Regions from separate parts of the Homo sapiens genome. Here region 2 is linked to region 1. The links are contacts of gene promoters, found by promoter capture Hi-C in human tissues and cell types (Jung and others, 2019). All regions are on one chromosome and are shown on one strand. The core of a region is centred on a gene start or on the middle of the fragment in contact, and the rest is flanking DNA. Distances in the headings are between cores, read along the strand shown.

What was found. The method cuts DNA at HindIII sites, captures the fragments that hold promoters and counts their contacts. A contact is called where the count stands out against the background at its distance.
Region 2: a contact is called between a fragment that was not itself captured here and the fragment with the promoter of CD59 in region 1, in 1 of the 25 tissues and cell types used here (dorsolateral prefrontal cortex).

The regions. Positions count from the first base shown.
Region 1 is chr11:33,734,641-33,740,366 of GRCh38, forward strand. It overlaps CD59 (CD59 molecule (CD59 blood group)), which reads right to left and starts at 1,783. Exons shown (of 4, transcript NM_000611.6): 1 at 1,742-1,783. RefSeq lists a silencer at 1,432-1,901. The HindIII fragment of the contact is 16,078 bases long and covers 1-3,493 here.
Region 2 is chr11:33,423,742-33,429,548 of GRCh38, forward strand. The region is part of intron 1 of KIAA1549L (KIAA1549 like); the gene reads left to right. Among named protein-coding and RNA genes, the nearest start is that of KIAA1549L, 51 kb to the left of the region's middle. The HindIII fragment of the contact is 4,649 bases long and covers 64-4,712 here.

The DNA of each region.
Region 1 (5,726 bases), core at 533-3,032:
TCTCCAAAGAGTCCTATCTCCGCACTCACGGCCCCTCCCGTGTTAAGTACACATGCAAAACCAAGGTTTAGTGAATATGTTTCCTAAGATATAGGACATAAGTAAAAAGAAGTCTTTGCCTTTAGAAAGCCTCAAGCACTTCTGGGCTTGGCAATGTCTGTGGCGGTTTGGCTGAGGTTCTTAAAGAGGTGGCCCAGAATTTTCCATGCTCTACTTTTCAAGAGCTTCTACCAGCAGCTGTCAAAGATGAATGCCATTAGGCACCCCACTCTCTCACCCTAAGATCCATTTTATTTAGGCTTTTATCTCCTAAGCCACTCAGCTAATGGGATGTTTTTCTTACAGCTAAGTTCAGCAAACAGTTTCTAGTTTCCACTGTGAAAATACAGAGGCCACAAGTTTTAGGACTGTTTGGCTTGTAGGGGAGGCAGCCTCCCTTTCTGCCTCTCCTTCATAAACTGCCACGTAAATAGCCACATTTTGGCAAACGTTGCCATCTCCCTCAACATTCGGGGCTCTGTGCCTTCTTCAGGGAACTGGGAGTAAACCGCCAGGAGTGGAGAACTTGAACAACTGCTCAGGGATCGCAGGGTACCTGAAATAATTAGCAGCCGCCGCGTTTGTGCTGAGCGCTTTCCGTCAATCATCTCAACCACCCTGTGAAGTGAAGCCTATTGTTTTACCCATCAAGTGCTGTTAAATACTTCCAGAAATGACCAGTGAAGAGCCTGGGTATCACTAAACGGCCATAAAAGGCACACTGCTTAATGTTGGTTTTTTTTGTTTGTTCTTTGTGGGTTTTGTTCGTTTTTGAGGCGGAGTCTCGCTCTTATTGCCCAGGCAGTAGGGCAATGGCGCGATCTCGGCTCACCGCTACCTCAGCCTCCCGGGTTAATGTTGTTTTTTGAAAAGTCAGCAGTCAGACTCTAAGAAGGGTGCGGCCCGAGCCGACCCAAGAAAACAAAACATCACGTTGTACTTAAAACGTCCGTTTCGGCCGGGCGCGGTGGCTCACACCTGTAATCCCAACACTTTGGGAGGCGGAGGCGGGCGGATCACGAGGTCAGGAATTCAAGATCAGCCTGACCAACATGGGAAAACCCCGTTTCTACTAAAAATACAAAATTTAGCCAGGCATGGTGGCGCATGCCTGTAATCCCAGCTACTCAGGAGGCTGTGGCAGGAGAATCGCTTGAACCCGGTACACGGAGGTTGCGGTGAACCCAGATCGCGCCACTGCACTCCAGCCTGGGCAACAGCGAAACTCCATCTCAAAAAAAAAAAAAAGTCCGTTTCGCCCGACACCTGCTTTTCAAAATTACACATTTAGACCGCGAGGGGAGAGAGGAACTGCCGTGACCACGGAGGGCTGGCCTTTCCCCCGGCGCAGTTTCTCTGGACCGCTAGAGCTTCCCTTGAGACGAAAGCGATGGCAGGGGCCCGGGTGCGAGGCTGCCCCCGAGGGAATGGGGGGCGCGACGGGGGTAACGGGGCTGCTTCTGGGAGAGGGCGCGCTCCCCGTTTCTCCTTCCTCGTAGATAAAATGAAGCCAGCGTTCGGCTAGGACACCGGGCCGCGGTGACGGGTTGGAAGGGCCAGGCCTCGGGAGGCTCGCCCGGCAGGGGTCGAGTGGAAAGCGAGGACGGGGGTAGCCCCCACAGACCCTCCGCCCGGGCCCAGACTGCCGCCGCCACCTCGGCTCGGCTCACCCAAACCCCAGCAGGCCTTCGGGCCTTCTTACCTGGCGGCGCCCAAGATCCTCTTCCAGCCTCGAGCCGCTTCTGCGCTCAGCCCCCGCATTCTTTCGCTCCAGCCCGCAAGGCTCCGCCCCCCGGCCCCGCCCCTCAGGATGCCCTTGCCCTCCCAGGCTCCCGGCTCCCGCACCGCGCAGCCGCACCTCGGCAGGAACCTCCTCCTCTCCCTCCACCCCCGCGCGGAGCTCAGCCTCCTGGCCCAGGTTCTGAGAAGGCCGGGTGGCCAGGACCCAATGAGCACCTTCAAAACCCCAGGGAACTGAAAGTTTGGGGCGTCCTCCTCGGATTTGCTATGGGACATAAAAACAGTAGGAAACTTCCAAAGACTTCTGATTTTCCCTTTTACTTTTTTTTTAAGTATATTAAAATGTTTTTCAAAACGTTTCTGTGCGTCTTGCTGGTGCCCTGGGTGCCCCAGGGCCTGGCTATCGGGCTATGCGGCCCTGCTGCAGTCTGAAGCTGCTTCCTACTGCGAGGCTTGGGCAGCATCCAAATAGCCATCAGCCACAGCCGCATCCGTATCCGTGCCTTGTGACTTGTTTGAGACCCAAACAAAATGTTATGCGTTTAAAAGCTTACTGGGCTGCTCGGGGACCAGTGTTTTGAATGAACCTCTTCGAGTGTCTCTATCAACTTAGCTGGTAGCTACTGTTCCCCAGCAGCCACCAGAGGCAGGGACAGAAGAGCAAGACCAGGGGATCCGCCTGCATGAGTCTGTCCCTTCAGGGTGGCCTCGCCTCAGGGACTGGATTGTAGGCATGGTTTCAATAACACAGCGGTGTGAAAGTTTAAGAGTTTTTAGTACTTACGGACCCTGGGTGGTACACAGCTTGCCTAGAGGACACACACACACACACACACACACACACACACACACACACGGAGATCAGGGAGAACAGGGAGAGGGAAGGGAGGAACGGACCTTTGGGCCAGCAACTTTATCCAGTTAGGTTTCCTCTGGAGAGCTCTAACTGGTGGATTTAAAAGCAAGCAGGTGAAAAGGCAGAGGTGGGAGGAACTTGAACCAGAGTTTGAAGCTGCAGTAGTGCCCTGTTATCACATCACTGCATGTTTATCTCTGGCCACCAGCTAGAGCCATTTGCGTGGGGTATAGTACTGGAAACTGTCAATGGTGACTGAGACTTGCTTCTGTTATTAAAAGTTAAACATATTCAAAAATGGATGCTGAGGTAACAAAAAATTATAAGCACTCACCAGAACCGCAACCACCATTTGGAACATTAGTTTTATGTGCAGATGTAATTAGAAGTTTCCATTTGCTATTATATTTGGAAAGTGTCCCACTCACTGCAGAACTGACTGTAAGAACGCCATAGGAGGGAGGGTGGGGCTACAGGCCAAAAGTACAAGTCTTCCTCCAAGAGGATGGCCTCTGTTAGAAAGCATGAGACACACTTTGAGGGTCAGGGTGAGAAGATATTACATCTCAGGGCTGCTTGTGTTGAACTGGTCAGGGAAGAAGGCATGAGATAAAATTTAAGCAGGGGGAATCATAGATTACTGAATGTCTTGCAGGGAAAATCATATAGTAACTGTCTTGACGCTTCTACTGTTATTCTGATGGCTTTGGGATGTCAGGGAATGAGTTCCATTTGGTGGTGCTCAAATCCTGGTATTCCTCTATACAAGTGGGAGTTTTTTAAATCAGGATGACTTGCTTTGATATTTAAAGCATGTCTCCTTAAAACAGCTAATACTGTATATTTCCCAAGATGGATTCCAAAGCTCTTTTGTGTACATACCTTACACACATCCTGTTAGCTATTCCTTCCTTGACACGCTTGGCTTCTGAGATGCCACTCTCTCCTAGTTTGGTTCCCTAGAATGGTTTCTTGACCATTCGGTCTTGAGATTCTTTTCCTTTACCCACTAATAATTTGGTGTCCCAGGATTAGACTGAGAACCATGGCTGTGTGTGCTCCCTGGGAGACTATAGTGTATCTACTCTTTTACCTTGGGATGTATGTTTGCAGATGATTCAAAAGTCTGTCTCCATCCCTGACCACTCCCCCTATCTTCATATTCATATCCAGCTGACTGCTGGACATCTCCACTTATATGTTCCACAGACATCTTGAACTTAATGTGCACAAATCTGAATTCATCTTTAAAGAGTGACTGCTTTTCCTGAATTTTTTTCATAAATGAAGACAGAAACCTAGGAATCAACGTTGACCTCTTCCACTCCCTCACATCTACTCAGCCATTCCTGCCTATTTTACCATTTCAATATCTCAATTTCATTCCTTTTTCACATTGCTACTGTGCTAATTCAGATCTGTAGTTTGCGTTGCTTGAGCCATTACAATTCCTTAATACCAGGTCCCCATGTTGCCCATGTCAATTCCTGCATCCCCTGCCCCTTCTCTGCTTGCCCTCCACACGGCTGCTAGAGACCTGGCTAGTTTACCTCTCCAGCCTCATGCCTCACTTTTCATTTTCCACTTCATTTTACCTTGTTATCATCATCCTTTTGTGAATACAATATGCCTGCAGCAGCCAGTATGCAACCATGATCGTCTTTGAGAGGAAAAGTCTTGTGCTAAGGATGGCAGGTCAGAAAGATGGAGCCAATCTGGACTGTTGATAACACCACTGTGCCATCATGTCAGCCTTGAACTAGCTACCTCTGACTATTCGCAAGAATAACCACCCCCAAACTATTTAAGCTACTGTTAATTTAGGTATTTGTCTTATTCTAGTGATATATCAAGCCTCAGAGAAATTAGTAAAAAAAATCAGTTGTGTTTTCAAGGGTCCTCAGAGCCAGAAATGGCCTTTTCACCACCAAAAGTAGAGTCTGGTTTGGGCAACATTAATGCCAACTGTTAAATTCCTGTTACGTGTGAATAAGCATTCTTGCCAATAGCAGAAAATACAGAAGCTTGTTACCAACAAACTTCACGTTAGGCCGGGCGCGGTGGCTCACACCTGTAATCCCAACACTTTGGGAGCCAGAGGCAGGAGGATCACTTAAAGACAGGAGTTTGAGACCAGCCTGGTCAATATAGTGAAACCCTGGCTCTACTAAAAATGCAAAAAAGGGCATGGTAGTGCACACCTGTGATCCCAGCTACCCACGAGGCCGAGGCATAAGAATCACTTGAACCTGGGAGGCGGAGGTTGGAGTCAGCCGAGATCATGCCACTGCACTCCAGTCTGGGAGACACAGCGAGACTGTCTGAAAAAACAAACAAAAAACTACACCTCAGTATGAACTAGAGGTCACTCATTCAACATACTAAGAGAATGTGAATTCTGATGAGAGGATAAAGCAAATCAAAGCATTCTGAGGAGCAAAGGTTAGACAGGGTTGGAAGGGAGATTTGGGGCATCATAAGTACTCTGGAAATAGAGAGAGAGGTCATCAGAAAAGAGAAAGAAAAAATGGCAAGGGATTCCAGGGCCAGCCTTAATTGCCAAGATTTACTAGTTTTTGATTACTGCTTTATTGGAAAAGTTCGGTTTTGAAAAAATTAAGTGGTTTGACGCTATGGTCTGAATGTTTTTGTTCCCCCAAATTGTTGAAATCCAATCCCTAAAGCAATAGTATTAAGAGGTAGGGCCTTTAGGCTCTGCCCTCATGAAGGGGATTAGTGCCCTTATAAAAGAGGCCTGAGGAAGTTTGTTTGCTCTTTCCACCACATAAAACACAGCAAGAAGGTGCCATCTTTGAAGCAGAGAGTGGGTACTTACCAGACACCAAATTTGCTGATGCCTTGATCTTGGACTTCCCACCCTCCAGAACTGTGAGCAATAAATCTCTATTGTTTGTAAATGACTCAGTCTAAGGTATTTTGTTATAACAAACTAAATAAAGACAATTGACTTTTTTTCTAAAAAGGATAGCCGCCGGGGGCGGTGGCTCACGCCTGTAATCCCAGCACTTTGGGAGGCCAAGGTGGGCAGATCATGAGGTCAGGAGATCGAGACCATCCTGGCTAACATGGT
Region 2 (5,807 bases), core at 1,138-3,637, 310 kb before region 1:
AGAAGGCTGAGTGCGGTGGCTCATGCCTGTAATTCGAGCACTTTGGGAGGCCAAGGCAGGAGAATTGCTTCAGCCTAGGAATTTGAGACCAGCCTGGGCAACATAGCGAGATGCTGTCTCTACAAATAATAATAAAAGCTAGCTGGGCATGGTGGCATGTGCCTGTGGTCTCAGCTAGTCTGCAGGCTGAGGCAGGAGGATTGCCTGAGCCCAGGAGGTTGAGGCTGCCTTGAGCTGTGATCATGCCAGTGCATTCCAGCCTTGGTGACAGAATGAGGCTCTGTCTTGGAAAAAAAAAAAAGAATTGGAAGAATTGTAACAGAGGATGAAACATGGCTTCACCAGTACAATCCTGAAGACAAAGCACAATCAAAGCAATGGCTAGCAAGAGGTGGAGGTGGTCCAGACAAAGCAAAAGCAGATTGATCAAGAGCAAAGGTCATGGCAACGTTTTTTTGTGATGCTCAAGGCAGTTTGCTTATTGACTTTCTGGGCCAGAGAATGATAACATCTGCTTGTTATGAGAGTTTTGAGAAAGTTGGCCAAAGCTTTAGCAGAAAAATACCTGTGAAAGCTTTATCTGAGAGTCCTTCTTCACCACAACAAGTTCATTCCTCTCATCAAGCAAAGGCAGCTTTGCAAGAGTTTCTATGGGAAACCATTATACATCCACCTTGCAGTCTTAATTTGGCTCCTTCTGCCTGTTTTTGTTTCCTAATCTTAAAAAAAATCTTTAGAGGGCACTCATTTTTCTTCATTTAATAATGTAAAAATACAGCATTGACATGGTTAAATTCCTAGGACCCTCAGTTCTTTAGAGATGCACTGAATGACTGATGTCACCACTTACAAAAGTGTCTTGACCTTGATAGAGCTTATGTTAAGAAATAAATTTTGTATTTTTATCTTTTAATTTCATTTTTACCATGAACTTTTTGAGTCCCCTCATACATGCTCTACTCTGGGTACTGATGAGAAGGGCAAACAGAAGAGAATAAACCAGGAGAATGATGATCTTTGTTCAAGTTTTAAATACAGAGTATTGAAATATACTCCTCTCCAAGTATCATCACAGATGCAGCCTGCTTCTGTAGAATCCTGATGGCTGTGGACTCTGTGTGGTGAGGAGGTGAAGAATGAGGTTGGGAGAGGTGCTGCCTTTCTGGCCTCTGTACAGAGGGCATGAGGAAAGCTAAACTCCTCCAGTCAAGAGACCATGGGTCTCCAGTATCTCCAAATGCCCAGCACTTAGAATAGAAAGTTGGCAGGGAGTCAGTGCTAGTTAAATGAATGAACAAATAAAACCTTGATTTTGATTCCCTTTCTAGATACCAAACTTTGATCTCTTTATGTCTTATTTTATTCATTTGTAGGGTGGAGATGTTAATATGTGCTCTAATTCCATCTCAAGGAGCTTTTCAGAGCCTAAGATGAGTTAATTGATTTGAAGATTTGTATATACGTTAGTATCTAGAGCAGAAGAGAACTTACCTTGTGTTTCTTACAGCTCTTCTTCTTGGTCCTCAAGTCCTATTTTAAAATTTTGTCAATTAGAGGACTCTTGGTTCTCTTGGTTGACTCATTCTCTGCTGATTTGTTCTCTGTACTTGCAGCAAATAAAGTGCAGTCATTGAGAATGTTCCTGTGTCACTGTGATGTATCAAGGGATCTTCATGTTAATATCTGTTTCTCTGACAACTGTGTTTTATACTTTGTACTGTAGCTTTCATTGGAGAAGCCCTGGGCTCATAAGAGTGATTTGTTGTGGCATTTCCTTATGGAACATAAGCTTTGAAATATACTTGAGATAAATATTCATGGGAGACATCCAAATGCAGTAATGAGAGTACAATGAAGACAGCATTTGGACTTGGAAAACCTGAGTTCAAGTCCTCTCACTTGCTGTACGTAGATGAAAACATCTGCTTATTTCCGCTATTATTAGGAAAGGCTGGAATTCTATTTCACTTTGCATCACACGTCATATGGATGGAGAAACCCAGCAAACACTACTTTAGCCAAATAAAGTAATCAAAGATAACATCACCAGTAATGAGATGTGTCAACATGTTCTCCTTATTTTGATGCACAGAGCAAAAGGCAAAACATCACTTCTTTGGGATTTTTACTGAAAATGCACAAGTTCAGTCTAAGCACGAGAAAACACCAGACAAACCCAAATTAAGGGCAGTTCTACAAAATACCTGACTAGTCAGTCCTCTTCACAGATGGCAAGGTCATGAAAGACAAAGAAAGACTGAGGAACTGTCACAGATTGGTGGAGGCTAAGGAGACTTGAGAACTAAATGCAATGTGGGACCCTGGATTGGATTCTGCATCAGAAAAAGGACATTAGAGACAAAGTTAGCAACATTCAAATAAGGTCTAGAGTAGTTAATATAAATTTATCAGTGTTATATTCTTGGTTTTGGTAATTGTATTATGGTTATGTAGGATATTAACAGTAGAGGAAGCCAAGTGAAGCGTATTGAACTCTCTGCACTCTCTGCTTTGGTAATTTTCTATGAGTCTGAAGTTTTTTCAGAAGTTAAAAACATGATACTGGGACACATGAAAGCTTTGTGAAATATCCTGTTTTATGGGAAGTAGAGGGGGTTTCATTTCTTGCATATGAATTTAGGAGCTAGAAAGACCAATTTTCTGAAGCTAAAGGAGTCAAACTGTATCTTGACTGATGGAGTTCCTGACCATAAATTGAGAGCAAGGAGGGTTAACTCTTTGAGATCCCCAGAGGCCCTCCTGGTGCACAGGTGGTTGAGTACCTGGAGGTGATAGTATTTTGGCTGTATCATCTTTCACCTGGTCACCTGGGCAGAGCTGTGGGGCTATAATGATGATTACCCTTAGATTGAAAGTTTGTTATGTGCTAGAATCTGGGTACCAACTGCTTGTCACCATTAATCTTAATAATATTTTTGAAAAGCAGGTAGGTGATAGTTCCCTTATTTTAGGATACATCTCAGAGAGATTCATTTGCCCAAGAGCACTTGGATGGAGTGGAAATCTGACTGCAAGCTCAGGTTCTGACAGCTGTGCTGATCTTTTCTCCTTTGCCCTTGGTGGGTGCTCCCCTGAGGGCCTCCAGATCTGGCCCCTCCATTATCATTTATATCTGTGCTTGATAGAAAATTAGGAATCAGTGTTTTCCTACCCCCTATTATCTGTTTAAGCATAGACTAGCATTTTATGTAGGCTCTTTGGGGCTATTAATTGGTTTCTGTGGTCAAATGTGTTTTGGGGAAACTTAGGGATAAATATTAAATTCAGTAGCTCTCCACCTTTACCCAGGCAACTAAATGGGCGGTAGAAAACCACACGACCAGGCTCATTAGTCTCATCAGTTTATACCATGAACCTCAAGTGGGCCTTTGGTGCTGCCCAGCAATGCCACTCTATTTCCCTAGCACAGTCATCTGCCCATTCTCTAGGGTGACTGCTTCATACCTTCTCTTCCTCACAAAATCTCCCCATCTCCCAAGAAAAAACAGGTAGAAGAGGATTTCCACAAGCCCTTACCACTGCCTTAACCTGGCTGCCTGAATCCTGCCTTCTCTCCCTTTGAGGATGAACCATCTCTGATCCCTTTGTGGGAGACAATATCCCCTCTCAGGCTGTCGGGGTCCTCCTGCCAGCAGTTCCCCCTGCTCAGTATGCTCCTCTCCCATCATAGATATGCATGCTGATTTGTCTTCCATTTCTCCATGTTAGGAAAGCCCTCCCTTGGCCATGCATCCCCCTTCGCTGCTATACTCCCTCCGTCCCTATTTCTCCTTCCTCTTTTTCAGCAAACCCCCTTGAAATAATTTCCTTACAGGCTGTCTCCGGTTCCTCACTTCCCAATTCTTTCTCTTTTTTTCTTAATTGAGGTGAAATCCACTTACCATAGAAGTCATCATTTTGGTGTTTTAAAGTGTACAACTCAGTAGCATTTATAATGTTATGCAGCCACTACATCTATCCACTTCTGAAACCTTTTCATTATTCTGAAAGCAACCCCCTTACTAGTTAAGTAGTCACCCTCTCTTCTCTCCCCTGCAGTGTTTGGCAACCACAAATTGGCATTCCGTGTCTATGGATTTACTTGTTCTGTATATTTTATATAATTAGAGCCATACAATATGTGAACTTAATTCATTTAGCATAATGTTTGCAAGGTTCATCCATGTTGTAGCATGCATCAGAATTTCATTTCCTTTTATTGGTTAGTAATGTTTCATTGTATGTATCTAGCCCATTTTGCTTATCAGTTCGTCCACTGATAGACATTTGGTTGTTTCCACCTTTTGGTTATGGTGACCAGTGCTGCTATAAATATGAATGTACAAGTTTTTGTGTGGACATATGTTTTCAGTTCTCTTGGGTGCATACCTAGGGGTGGAATTGCTGGGTCATATGGTAGTTCTGTTTCACTTTTAAAGGAGCCACCAAACTGTTTGCAGCTTGGACCAAGTGGCTGGGCCAGTTTACATTACCACCGGTAATGTACAAGTGTTCTGATTTCCTTATATTTCCTTACCTCTTTGTCAACGTTTATAATTTCCTGTTTTTTTAAAAATTATACTTTAAGTTCTAGGGTACATGTGCACAACGTGCAGGTTTGTTACATATGTATACATGTGCCATTTGGTTTGTTGCACCCATCAACTCGTCATTCACATTAGGTATTTCTCCCAATGCTCTCCCTCCCCATCCCCCCGCCCACGACAGGACCTAGTTTGTGATGTTCCTCGCCCTGTATCCAAGTGTTCTCACTGTTCAGTTCCCACCTATGAGTGAGAACATGTGGTGTTTGGTTTTCTGTCCTTGCGATAGTTTGCTCAGAGTGATGTTTTCCAGCTTCATCCATGTCCCTACAAAGGACATTAACTCATCCTTTTTTATGGCTGCATAGTATTCCATGGTGTATATGTGCCACATTTTCTTAACCCAGTCTATCATTTATGGACGTTTGAGTTGGTTCCAAGTCTTTGCTATTGTGAATAGTGCTGCAATAAACATATGTGTGCATGTGTCTTTATAGTAGCATGATTTATAATCCCTCGGGTATATACCCAGTAGTGGGATCGCTGGGTCAAATGGTATCTCTAGTTCTAGATCCTTGAGGAATTGCCACACTGTCTTTCACAATGGTTGAACTAGTTTACACTCCCACCAACAGTGTAAAAGTGTTCCTATTTCTCCACCCTAGTGGGTGTGAGGTGGTATCTCGTTTTGTTTTTTGTTTTTGAGGCAGAGTTTTGCTCTTGTCACCCAGGCTGGAGTGCAATGGTGCAATCTCGACTCAGTGCAACCTCCGCCTCCCAGGTTCAAGCGATTCTCCTGCCTCAGCCTCCCAAGTACCTGGGATTACAGGCACCCACCACTACCCGCTGCTAATTTTTGTATTTTTGGTAGAGATGGGGTTTCACCATGTTGGCCAGGCTGGTCTCAAACTCCTGACCTCAAGTGATCCGCCCACCTCGGCCTCCCAAAGTGCTGGGATTATGGGTGTGAGCCACCGTTCCCAGCCCTCATTGTGGTTTTGATTTGCATTTCCCAAGTGGCGAATTGACCATTTGTATATCTTCAGAGAAATGTCTATTCACATTTCTGCCCATTTAAAAATCGGGTTGCTTGTCTTTTTGTTCTTGAGTTTCCCATTCCCTCTTGAACCCACTCCAATCAGTCTTTCCTCCTTACTATTCCAGGGTTGCTCTTATCGAGGTCACCAGTGACCTCCCAATCTGTCAAATCCAGTGGTCCATTTTCGGTCCTCAATGTATTGCCCTCACGGCAGCATTTAAGGA